2 separate regions of the Homo sapiens genome follow, and region 1 is linked to region 2. The links are contacts of gene promoters, found by promoter capture Hi-C in human tissues and cell types (Jung and others, 2019). All regions are on one chromosome and are shown on one strand. The core of a region is centred on a gene start or on the middle of the fragment in contact, and the rest is flanking DNA. Distances in the headings are between cores, read along the strand shown.

What was found. The method cuts DNA at HindIII sites, captures the fragments that hold promoters and counts their contacts. A contact is called where the count stands out against the background at its distance.
Region 1: a fragment that was not itself captured here is called in contact with the fragment with the promoter of RAB31 in region 2 in 1 of the 25 tissues and cell types used here (lymphoblastoid cells).

The regions. Positions count from the first base shown.
Region 1 is chr18:8,658,384-8,663,908 of GRCh38, forward strand. No RefSeq gene overlaps it. Among named protein-coding and RNA genes, the nearest start is that of RAB12-AS1, 25 kb to the left of the region's middle. RefSeq lists enhancers at 1,314-1,913, 3,884-4,468 and a silencer at 1,596-1,767. The HindIII fragment of the contact is 5,249 bases long and covers 1,081-5,525 here.
Region 2 is chr18:9,705,754-9,711,605 of GRCh38, forward strand. It overlaps RAB31 (RAB31, member RAS oncogene family), which reads left to right and starts at 2,548. Exons shown (of 7, transcript NM_006868.4): 1 at 2,548-2,691. The coding sequence starts at 2,653. It overlaps LOC124904244 (a long non-coding RNA gene), which reads right to left and starts at 2,219. Exons shown (of 2, transcript XR_007066281.1): 1 at 1-2,219. It overlaps LOC105371981 (a long non-coding RNA gene), which reads left to right and starts at 2,919. Exons shown (of 2, transcript XR_935131.2): 1 at 2,919-4,240. RefSeq lists silencers at 2,243-2,812, 2,913-3,142. The HindIII fragment of the contact is 12,091 bases long and covers 1-5,852 here.

The DNA.
Region 1 (5,525 bases), core at 2,455-4,954, 1.0 Mb before region 2:
TTTGAGAGGCTGAGGTGGGAGGATCACTTGAGCCCAGGAATCTGAAACCAGCCTGGGCAACATAGTGAGACCCCGTCTCTACAAAAAAAAATGTTTTAATTAGCCAGGCATGGAGATGCACGCCTGTCATCCCAGCTGCTTGGGAGGCTAAGGCAGGAGGATCACTTGAGCCCAAAAGGTTGAGGCTACAGTGAGCCATGATTGTGCCATTGCTCTCTGGCCTGGGTGACAGAAGTGAGACCCTGTCTTTAAAAAAAAAAAAAAAAAAGAATGAATGTCTTTTGAGCTGAAATGATGGTCTTCGCGTCTTCATGAGGAATCTAGTTGGGGACAGGGACGAGAAAAGCTCTAAGAAATTTGGGGCAGGGAGGACCCACACAGATTTTATGACATTTGCAAGGGTAGTTTTTATTATGTTTTCAACATCTTGCCGTTCTTAAACTATAGGAGTAGCTGGTTGTCCTAGGGAAGGGTTTCTATGGCGCCACTGTGGCATTTCTCTCTCGAAAGCTTCTCCGTAAAGTAGCTTGAACACATCATGCACAGGCTCAATCATGTATAAACCACTTTGTAACAAAGGCTCTCGGGCAGAGTGGCCAGGAGAGAAGCGCCACAGAGAGGGGGCAGAGGGAGCGGTAGGAAGAGAGGTGCCGTCACAGCAGCACGTGGGTCCTGGATGACTCAGCCAGGGGTGGCCACCAGCCTGACCTCCCCAGAAAACCCCCTCACCCGATGAGACGGTCGTCTGGGGACCTGCAGATGATGAAGTTAAAAGGACTTATTCTTTGCCTCGTGTATCTTCACGACTCGTGGTGCTGATATCAATAACCACGCTCAGATGGAAACTCGGCTTCCTCCCAGGCCATCCACGACAGAAGTGGCAGCTGAAGACGGGCTGGCCCGAGAGGCAGCGCCCCGCGCAGAACGCCCGTGCCTGGGAAGAGGCCTGCACTCCAGCAGACTTCCATGTTCGCTGGAAGCCTCCCTTCCTGACTGTGAATTGGGACAATGCGCAGACTTCCATGTTCGTTGGAAGCCTCCCTTCCTGACTGTGAATTGGGACGATGCGCGGGATTTTCTGAAACCTCAGTTCCTCCGTCTGTAAGATGAGATTGTGGGGAGGAGGGCGGACCTGTAAGTGCCCAGCCACGAGGGCTGAGAGATTCGAACTCCTTTGCTGCCGCGAAGAAGGGCCTGTTCCCCGGAGGCCAGGTGGGCTCCAGGCCAAGCTCGCAGAGGGGCCAGGTGTGCTCTGGCGGTGAGAGGGCCGCGCGTCCCGGCACACACCCCGCCCATTTCAGCACCCTCTCCACCCTCCTCAGATGACCAGAGAAATCCAAGCAGGCCCTTGGCTTTCAAGATTCAGCTTCAGCCATGCATAAGTCCTTCACTGAAGTGGCAGAGGAAGGACGAGCGGCTTTGTTGGATTGGGGCTGGAGCCCCGTGCCCGGCTGTGGGTGCTCGTGGGAGAGCCTCGCCCGGCCCTGCGCTTCCCGAGAGTTCGCCGGGAGCACAAGCCCTGGAGAGCCCATGGGCAGAGCTCACCAGCCCCACCTCACAGAGAGGGAAACTCCGAAGTGGCCGTGGATTTGCCCAGGGTCACCCAGTGACAGACAGCTCAGACTCCTTTCCCAGCTCCGGCCACCGAAGCTTGCAGGCGCGTCCGTTCCAGCTCAGATAAGCACCTCCGCCACGCTTTCCTCACGCCTTCATCCGATCTGGTGTTTCCCGGCCTGAGGTTTGGTTTTAGCACGCAGCAAGCACTTCCGTTGAAGCGTTAATCGAGTTTTATTTTGACTAGCTCTTCCGTCTCTTCCAAAGATACCTCCTGATTTCTACCACCACACGCCAGTTTTGCAGTTGTTGAATATTATACAGGTGGACTCCCAAGGTATCCCATTGCTGGGCTTTTACAAAACACTCACTGGCTATGTTCCTATCGGCTCTGGTATCGGTGGCCTGTGAGCTACTCACTCACAGAGCTCAACCTTCCTGCAGGTACCAGTCAGGACTAACTTCTGGAAAGAGAAGCCTTAATTTAAAAACATAAAAAATAAATTTTAAAAAAAGCTTTCCTACCAAATTCCTGATTGGTAACTGTAGTAACAAATTCAGGTCGGCTTCCCTGACCTTGGCTTCTGACAGTCTGGGATTCGTCACAGCTTCCTGGATGAGTCTCTAGAATGTTTTAAAATATTTTTAATTTTCATGGGTACATAGAGTCTCTAGAATATTATGAGACGTGTATACAAAAAGTCCAAGCCTGGGCAAAATAGTGAGACCCTGTCTCTACAAAAAATAAAACAATTTAGTCAGGCTTGGTGACACAGGCCTATAGTCCCCACTACTCAGGAGGCTGAGGCAGGAGGATCGCTTGAGCCCAGGAGTTCAAGGCTACAGTGAGCTGTGATCACACTATTGCACTCAGTCTGGGTTGACACAGTAAGACCCTGTCTCTAACAAAAAGAAAACGAAAAATCCATATGTGATAATCCATGCCAAATAAAGTTAATCATGATCATTACAAAATGAAAGTAATTTCCGTGCTTTACAAAATGATTCACTATTAAGTTACTTTAAATAGTAAGCTCTCTTCCTATGTTTTAAAATAGATGATCTAAATGAATTGAACCAATTTTCAGGAATATATTCATACCTATATCAAGGCATACCTGATTGGACCCTATATAATTTTTGTTCATTTATTTATTTGTCCCTCGATTTGTCCAGCCTGCCTTATTGATCAGCCGCCCCGGAGGGGAGGGGACTTGGGAGTGAGGTCCTGTGGAGGAGGAGGGGGTGAGAATGGAAACTGTGGGTTGTCTATCTTAATGTGATTTTCCTGACTCAGTGGGCTGGCGAAGACTGCTTGGCATTTGAGACATAGCTACTTCTTGGTCTGTCTCCCAACTAGATTGTGAAGTGCTTGAGGACAGGGGACATTTCAGTCTGAATGTGTCTGCCAAGAAAAAGAGCAGGAGAGAGGAAGGAAGGAAGAGAAAAAGGGAGGGAGGGAGGGAAGAAGGAAGGGAAGGAAGGAAGAAAATTGTATATAATAGCCGTAATGTCTGTGTAGGTACATAAATGGATACATAGATACATTTAAACCACAGCCTTACAGTTATTCAAGTATTGCTACTTCTTTATAATCTGAGACAGAGAAAGAGCAGTCATTACTCTCTCATACAAGCTTCTTTTTCGTATTGTAACCTGAGAATTTAGCATTAATTGCTACAAAGGAAGCAAATAAAACTCACTTGTGAAAACACAAATTGCCCTGCTGCCTTTTGCTTTTTTTGCCTGTTGATATAAATTGAAAAATACACCAGGAACAATCAAACTTGCAGTCGATGGCATTGACTGGAAGAAGGATTAGGAAGTGAGAGAACAGGTTAAAATGTGGTCCACAATTCTCAGCGATGGCTGGAGATCAGGCTTCACCAGGGAGGAGGGTTAGCTCAAGGCTCAGGCTCGTTTAAATATTTTCCCCTTCCTCTCCTTCCTGTGAATTTAACCAGGAAAACAGCACAGTCTGTCACCTAGGTAACTGGCTCTCCTGCTGACTGGTGGAGATTGGAAACCGCACCCTTTCTCACTGCAAATTTGCATTCGCAGCTGGGCTTCGGGTGACCTCGCCAGAGGACAGAAAGCTAATCCAATCCTGCTGCTGAATGAGGGTGCCCGGTCCTACCTGGTCCACCTGACAGGCATCTGCCTCTGTAAGGAGTCTGTTTAAGGGTCCCGCGTGCCCATTGCTTTCCTTCAGAAGGAGGCTGGAAAATGCTTTTGATTTGAAAATGATGAAAATGAAAATGGTCCTTGGATTGTCACTTTGTGCAAAACCCTGTATTTCTAATTGGGAGAACATCGCTTCTCCCAACCATGTTCCCGAAGAGCCTGCAGGTTAGGCTGGCTGAGATGAGGACAAAGACCTTGGGTGCCCAGTTTAGTCATGTTAATTAAAATAAAAAATTGAAGTGGGGAGGCGTGAGGAGAATGTGCCTGGACAATAGGAACCCCAGGCCGTGGTCGTCAGCTCAGTGTTTGTTCACAGCCGCTCCTTTCTTTGCCCCATTGTGCTGTCAGCTCGGTGACTTCTGAGAGGGGCTGGGCGCCAGCTGTATGCAAAGTGCAGAGGCCCTGGGGCGGGTGCCTGGGGAGAGGGGCTGCCTGCATCACTTCTGTGTTACTCGTTTTCTCTTCTCCTCATGGAATAACAGCTAATTCACACCTTTATGTAATATCGGCGAACTCACACCTTCATGTGATAACGGCTAACTCACACCTTCATGTGATAATAACAGCTAACTCACGCCTTTAGTTGTAGGTGTTATTCTCAGGACTTCCGTGTCTAAAATGACTTCACCCTGACCATAATAACCTAGGAGATGGGCACTGTTCATGCTGATTTGAGAAAGGGGCAATCCCAGATGCAGGCAGCGGAAGTGATTTGTGCAGGCCTCATGGCCAGTAACTGACTCCTGACACCCTTGGCACCGGCCACCCCCCAACTCGCCCCTACATGCAGGTGGGTTCAGCTCAGCAGAAGAGGGCACTCAATGCCCTTGAGAGCAGGTGCGGGACCCAGGCTGCAACTGGCCTTGCTAACTTGTCCCTGGCGTCCTCACTCGCTGTCTGGCCTGGCAAGCCCGCGGTGAGCTCCCATCTGTCCCCTGTCATCTGCGAGCTGCGCTATGGAACTGATCTGAAGGGCCATCCGCCTCCCCCTCCACCCATGCTCCCCAACCTTGACTGCTCCCTTAGTGATCCCTGTAGGACAGGCGGAAGCCAAAGGAAAGGAAAAGAGAGGCTGCATGGGTACCTAGGAAAACGCCTAGTTAAGAGGCATTATCTGAGCTCCTTCCGAGTGCCAGTCCCAGCTTGGAATGGGGAGATGCACTGCCAGTGAGGTAGGCAGGGTCCCGGTCCTCCAGGCTGACCTGCTGACCCGCAGGGGACACAGACAGGAGGTGCAAGGGAGCAGCAGGGCCTGAGGGGATGCACATGTTGCCACAGGATCAAGAGTGAAGAAGCTGAGGTGAGGGCTGTGACTTCCCTAGGTGCTCAGAGAACGCTCCCGAGGCTGAGGCCTGCCCGCCAAGACATTAGGGGGAGGACAGCCTCAAGCAGACCTGGGGACAGGCCCCCAGCAGGGCTCAGGAGCAGAAACCGGCCAGATGCACCCAGCAAGCAGAGGACAGTGGCCAAGGGAGGTGAGTGGCTCACATGACTCGCAGGCCTTGGAGAGGGATCTGCACTTCATTCTAACTGCAATTTTTCACCCAAGAGAAAGGAAGGTAGCCTCGGGTTGGGAGGGACCCATTGTGCAATTTGTTGTAAGGTCAATACACACCTGAGGTGAGCAAAGACCCACTGTGAGTGATCGGAAGAGGGATCATATCCTTCCAATATCTGTGATCGATCCCATCCAACCCTCCCTTTTATGCATGGTGCCTGACGTGGATGCTGCTTCCTCAGATCTACATGTTCAGTACACAGCAGAGCCTAAACTGGAGGTCAGTCTG
Region 2 (5,852 bases), core at 1,298-3,797:
TTTTTTGTCTGCATATGTGTTTATATTCAAACAGGCAGCTTTGTTTACTTTTCGTCTTTGTATGTTATTGTTCAAAAAAGGATTTCCTGAATCAAAAAACATGATCAGTTTTATGACCATTACTGGCTTTTTCTGTTGGAGACTTTATAGCAGCAGAGAAGTTGAGGTCTGAATTAGCACAATGACCATTTACGTTACAAAATTCTTATAAGAAAAACTTGCATGTTCTATTTCTTAATTTGATAAATTGTCAGTTATGTACCATTGAATTTTTACCCCTGCTGAAGTTACACCAGAACTACATATTTGCAGAAAATTCCAGAGAAGTCAGGATGGGCCCTTAGTACAGTAATCATAGAGTGTAACAATAGAGAACATGGCACTTTTTTAAAAAGTCGAGAGCTGCCTCTGACGTGTCACTCTTAAAATATGTCTCCCAGCAGTCATCTTCCTGCCTTCCAGGGCTAGAGCTTTGTAGGTTACCTTAGGGTGATCATGGGGACCTGGTTTTCATGAGGCCATGTTTAAGCTCAGGGGTGACCTGGCTGGGAAGAGGGTATAAACCCATGAACACGAGTCAGTTGACAGACTAGGATTGCCACTTTGTAAAGAAGAGCCCAAGACCTGATCAGAATGAGACACAAATGAGGTCATTTTTAACAGAACTAGGGGAGGGGAGAAGGACAAATAGACTGGGGCGATTCTCAGGGAGGGAAGGGCTGGATACGAGACTCTTTTGGGAGAGCCTAGAAACGACGCAAGCGTCCCAGACACCCGGGCTAGTGGAGAAGAGAGCAGAATGAGAGCAGTCATGAAAAAGAGTAAGGGAACACAAGAGAAATTCGGTTTGCCTATTTCTGTCTGGGCACAGTTCTGCCCTTAGCAATCTAAGGCAACTTCACAAAGCTCCACTCACTGCACGGGATGTAGAACACAGTGGAGGCTTCCACCCTGGTTTGACTGGCTTTTGGGAATCAAGCTGGAAAGCCAAAAGGACATGTTTCACTGTGGAGGTGCCCTCAGGGCTGGCGAAGGCCTTGGGGGAGGTGTCTTTGCAACTGTGTAGGGGTGGTTTTCTGATTAGCAAATCTGAGGGCAGGGAGATATTGTGATCAGGACTGTTTGATTCTGGGGAAGCCTCTTTTTACCCTGCCCACATAGAAGACTCTGCTTTGGATACAGAGTCAAGGACGGATACTGATACAATGGACCTGTAACTTGTCCATGGCTGCCTTTTGTACAGTTTAGTCCATTTGAGTAATCTCTACAAGCCTGCACCTCGAGGGCAAACTTCCTGCTCTTCTGGGGAATTTAATTGTGAATTGTCTGTTTCGGGGCCCATTTTGACTCCTGTATTCCAGGACTTATCTCTTTGGAGGCCTTGATTTGGAATTTCCCATTGGATGGGGCTACTTGGGTACTGGGTAGCTTCAACCTGGCTTCCGTAAGAACAAAGCCAGATGATCACGGTGGGTGGTCTGCTAGGAGAATGGAAATGCCATTGATTAAAATTGGAAGGTTAAGAGAGAGGCCTGAGAGTTTGGGATAGGAGATGAAGTTTCAAAAAATCAGTTTTTAAAAAAACATTTCCCATCTGAAATGCCAGTGAATTGTTCAGATAGATTACATTGAAAAGGCTGACATTTCTGTAGCAGCAACGAATGAAGTCATCCGAGTGGATGAGGTGCTCTAGGCCATACATGGAGAAGAGAACACAGTTACCCAAGCCTCCCCGACTGTGTGCGGCCACAGACTCTGCTCATTTCCCAGTTAGGAACGATGCAGGGGTCTGCTGGGATCTCCACGTTTCTACCTGTACCTCTGAGGACTGGGTTTCTGCCCACACGAGTTGCAGGATTTGCTCTACTGAGAAAAAGACTTTTGCTCCAGAAAGCAAGTTTCCCGTTTCAGACACGGACAGCGAGTTTTGCTTCTAGAATCATTTTCAGCTGCATACAGAAAAATGAACTTGGCTGAGCTGAAGAGCCACACATATGTTAAACGGAAGCTCGGGTATTAGGAACGTCGAGAAAGGCAGGCCGAAAAGTTAGCCCCCTTCTCCTCACCCCTGTCCTCACAGCGGCCCCTTCAGTGGCCTGACTTTTTCTGCGTGGGACCCAGAATGTCGCTTGAGGATGGGACCCCCGCAGACCTCCACGCGCTGCCACGCAAACGGCCTCGGCCGAGAGCATTCGCTTTCCAGATGAGAATGGCATCTTCAGGGACCCGCTGGTAGTGGGGCCAGGTCTCCACAGGGCCGGTCCAGTCCTTCCTACCCACCCGGGCCCTGCGGCCAGGCGGGGCCGGGAGGGGCGGATGCCGGAGGGCGCTGGGGGAGGCCGACCCGCGCGGGGCTGGTCCGAGGGCGGAGGCAATCCGCCGGCGACGCCGCAGGTCCCGGGTGGCTGACGCCGTCCGGGGGCGTTCCTGGGAGCTGGGGGCCGGCGAGGCTGGACCCGACGCGCCCGGGAGGAGCCGGCCGGCGGCCACGTGACCCACCGCGGCGGGGCCGGCGGCCCAGAAATAGCAGCGGCGGCGGTTCCGCCCGCGGGCGGCGCGAGCGAGGGGCAGAGGCGAGAGACGCCGGCGGGGCGCGGGCGCGGCGGCCCCGGAGGATGCTGCTGAGCCCCGGCACTGCCTGGCTGCGAGCACATGATGGCGATACGGGAGCTCAAAGTGTGCCTTCTCGGGGTGAGTCCTGGCCGCCACCCGCCGGCGGACCCCGGCCCGCGCTCTCGCGCCCCTTCGCTCCCCTATTCCCTGCGCGCTCAGTCCCCGTGATCCCCTCGCTCTCCGCACCCCTCTCGTAGCCCCCGTCCCCCTCGTCCGCGCGCCCCCTGGTTCCCCGGGTCCCCCTGGCTCCCCTAGTCCGTGCGCCCCTCGCTCTCCGCGCCCCTCGCTCTCCGCACCCCGCCTGTTCTCCGCCTCCCCGCCGTCCGTGCGCCCCTCTGGTCCGCCCCCGCTCTCACCCTGCCGGGGTCCGGGTCCGAGCCTGCCCCGGGCTTACTCCGCTCTTTCCTCCCGGCCCGCGAGTCCCCGGATCCGCGGCGACCTCGCGGGGACCCCCAGCGGGGACGGGGCAGTGGCGGCGAGTCTGGGGCCCCGAGGGCTTTCTCCTCCGCTTTTGATAGTTTCCTTCCGGCAGAAAGTTTAAGTTGCTCAGCCAAGTCGCTGAGTGCTCTTTTGCCTCCTGGGGGCAATTGATTTACTCACGTAAAACAGAAAAATAAAACCAAAAGCGAACCCAGCCAAGGGGGTGAAAGCCGAGGGCGCGGCCGGGGTGGAAGGTGAGGCAGTGACCTGTGCGGAGCGCGCCCTGCAAACTTCCCTGCTGCGGGTGAAAGAAGCTGCCTGGGAAAGTCCTCCCCACCATCACTCCCCTAAAGTGGGGTTTTCTCCGCCCGAAGAAGCCTTAAAGCAGCCAGAAACAAAAAAGCAGTCAATCCGTGCGGCCCGGGGACTGCAGACAGGGGACCCGGCGAGGACGCAGGGAGCCGCTGGCGAACCGCCCCTGGGAATTCAGATAAACGTAGGGTCGCTTCCTTTCGGGGGCCCACTCCGCATTCCAGAATTCCTTCTTCTAAAAGAAGAGCCGGTTCTAAGGGCGTTTTCAGCAGCCATTAGCATCTGGTGTACCCGCCCGTGTCATTGGCAAAGCTGGTCTCATGAAAACCATTTCCTAAAAAAGGGCAGCGAAAGGGTCGCATTCTTGTGCGAACTGATCTGTCAAGATGGGGGTACAAGAACTGTAGAAAGAGGAAATGATTTCGGTGAGGACTGAATTGTGCCAGCGTCTCTAGGCTTCCTCTAGGCTCTTGTGGAACCTCCGGCAGGCTCCCATCATCGGCTCCCATCACCGGCCTCTTCCAAAACCATCCCTTACGCTAACTCGATTGTCCGGTTGGCTTAGAATTCCAGAGGATCTGGGAAGGCCCTGCCCTCCCTGCTAGCCCCTGGCACAGATCCGCACAGATCCCCACCTCCCCCGACTTGCTCAGCCACAGCCAGGATCTAGTCTGGTCTTTCTCTGTTGACCTTTTTGTGTGGCAGGAGTGGGTTTTCCTGTTCCCCAGGCCCTCTAATATTTCCAGACATAAATTCCAGGAATCCCATGCTTCCCTCTTGAGGGGCCATTTCAGCCTCAGGAAAGGCCTTCAGAGACTTAGAAGGAATGTCGTGTTCCAAGGAATGAAGAGGCAGCCTTGATGTGCCGTGTTTGTCAGGACTGGCCTTGGGAAAGGTGAAATAGGACATATTTTTGCCTTTTTTTCTGCAACTCTTTTCTCTTGACTTTTACTGAGGTGGTCCAAGCCCTGCCGTGTCACAGGACCCCTTATTTTCAGTTTCGGTGTTTAGGGACAGGTCTCTATGTCCTCCTACCAGGACACTGATCAGGTGGCAAGAACCCTGTGTCAAGAGGCAGGAAACCTAGGCTCTCGTTCTTTCCCACCAAAGAGCTGTGTCGTTTTAGCAAAGCAACTCAGTGGCCTCATCTATGAAATGGGCATAATAACATGTTCCCCCTTTAGGCAGAGGACTACACCAGATGATCTCTTAAGATACATGTTACCATTTCCTGCTAATCTATGAGTTCAGGGTGCCAATTAGCAAACCTGGGAGAGGAGGAAGCTGGAGGAAATCTCTTTACTTCTTTTATCTCCAAGAAAGATACACACTCTTTGAGTGGCTTCCTGCAGACAGTGCCTTACCTTTGCCAGTTCTGTGTGTAGGAATTTGAACTTGGAGTTGGAAGAACCATGCCAAAGCAGAGAAAGAAGAGGTTTCTGGGCAGACGGAGGCTTTGAAACATCAATCGTGGCCGGTCGCGTTGGCTCACACCTGTCATCCCAGCACTTTGGGAGGCTGAGGCGGGGGGATCATTTGAGGTCAGGAGTTCAAGACCAGCCTGGCCAACATGGTCAAACCCCGTCTCTATTAAAAATACAAAAAAAAGTTAGCTGGGCGGTAGCGGCGCATGCTTGTAATCCCAGCTACTCGGGAGGCTGAGGCAGGAGAATCGCTTGAGCCTGGGAGGTGGAGGTTGCAGTGAGCCGAAATCACGCCACTGCACTCCAGTCCGGGCGACAGAGTGAGACTCTATCTCAAAGAAAAGAAAACAAAAGAAAAGAAACATCAGTCATATCACACCACATTTGTGGCTTCCTTTTTTTTTTTTTGAGGGTGGCTGTAAGTTTCAGTTTTATTGAAATCAGAGGACATTTTATTTGAAAGACCAAATGACCTTGTTGTCCACACTGAGTAAGATTTGCCACATCCCCTCGTTTGGCTGGCTCTTTCCTGGGTGAGATGTGTGCAGCAGGCTGTGTTTCTAGCTGCTCATCCAATTAGGCTGATTCTCTGGGTGGGATAACATTGAGGGAGATCAAAACCATTTGACTGTCTTCGGTTTACTCTCTTCTCTCTCTCTCTCTCTCCTCTTTTTTGTTTTGAGACAAGGTCACATTCTGTCATCCAGGCTGGAGTGCAGTGGTGCCATCATAGCTCACTGCACCCTCCAACTCCTGGGCTCAGTGGATCCTTCTGCATCAGCCTAGGTTTATTCTCTTGATTCGAGAGACCCTGTGGATCAGTCAGTGCTAAGTCCAAAAGTCCTTTAAAAAATATATGTATATTTTTGAGATAGGGTCTCACTCTGTCACCCAGGCTGGAGTGCAATGGTGCCATCCTGGCTCACTGCAGCCTCAGCCTCCCAAGCTCAGGTGATCCTCCCACCTCAGCCTGCCAAGTAGCTGGGACCACAGGTGTGTACCACCCAGCCCAGCTAATACTTTTTATTATTTTTGTAGAGATGGGGTCTCCCTATGTTGCCCAGGCTCTTTCAACATTTTAAC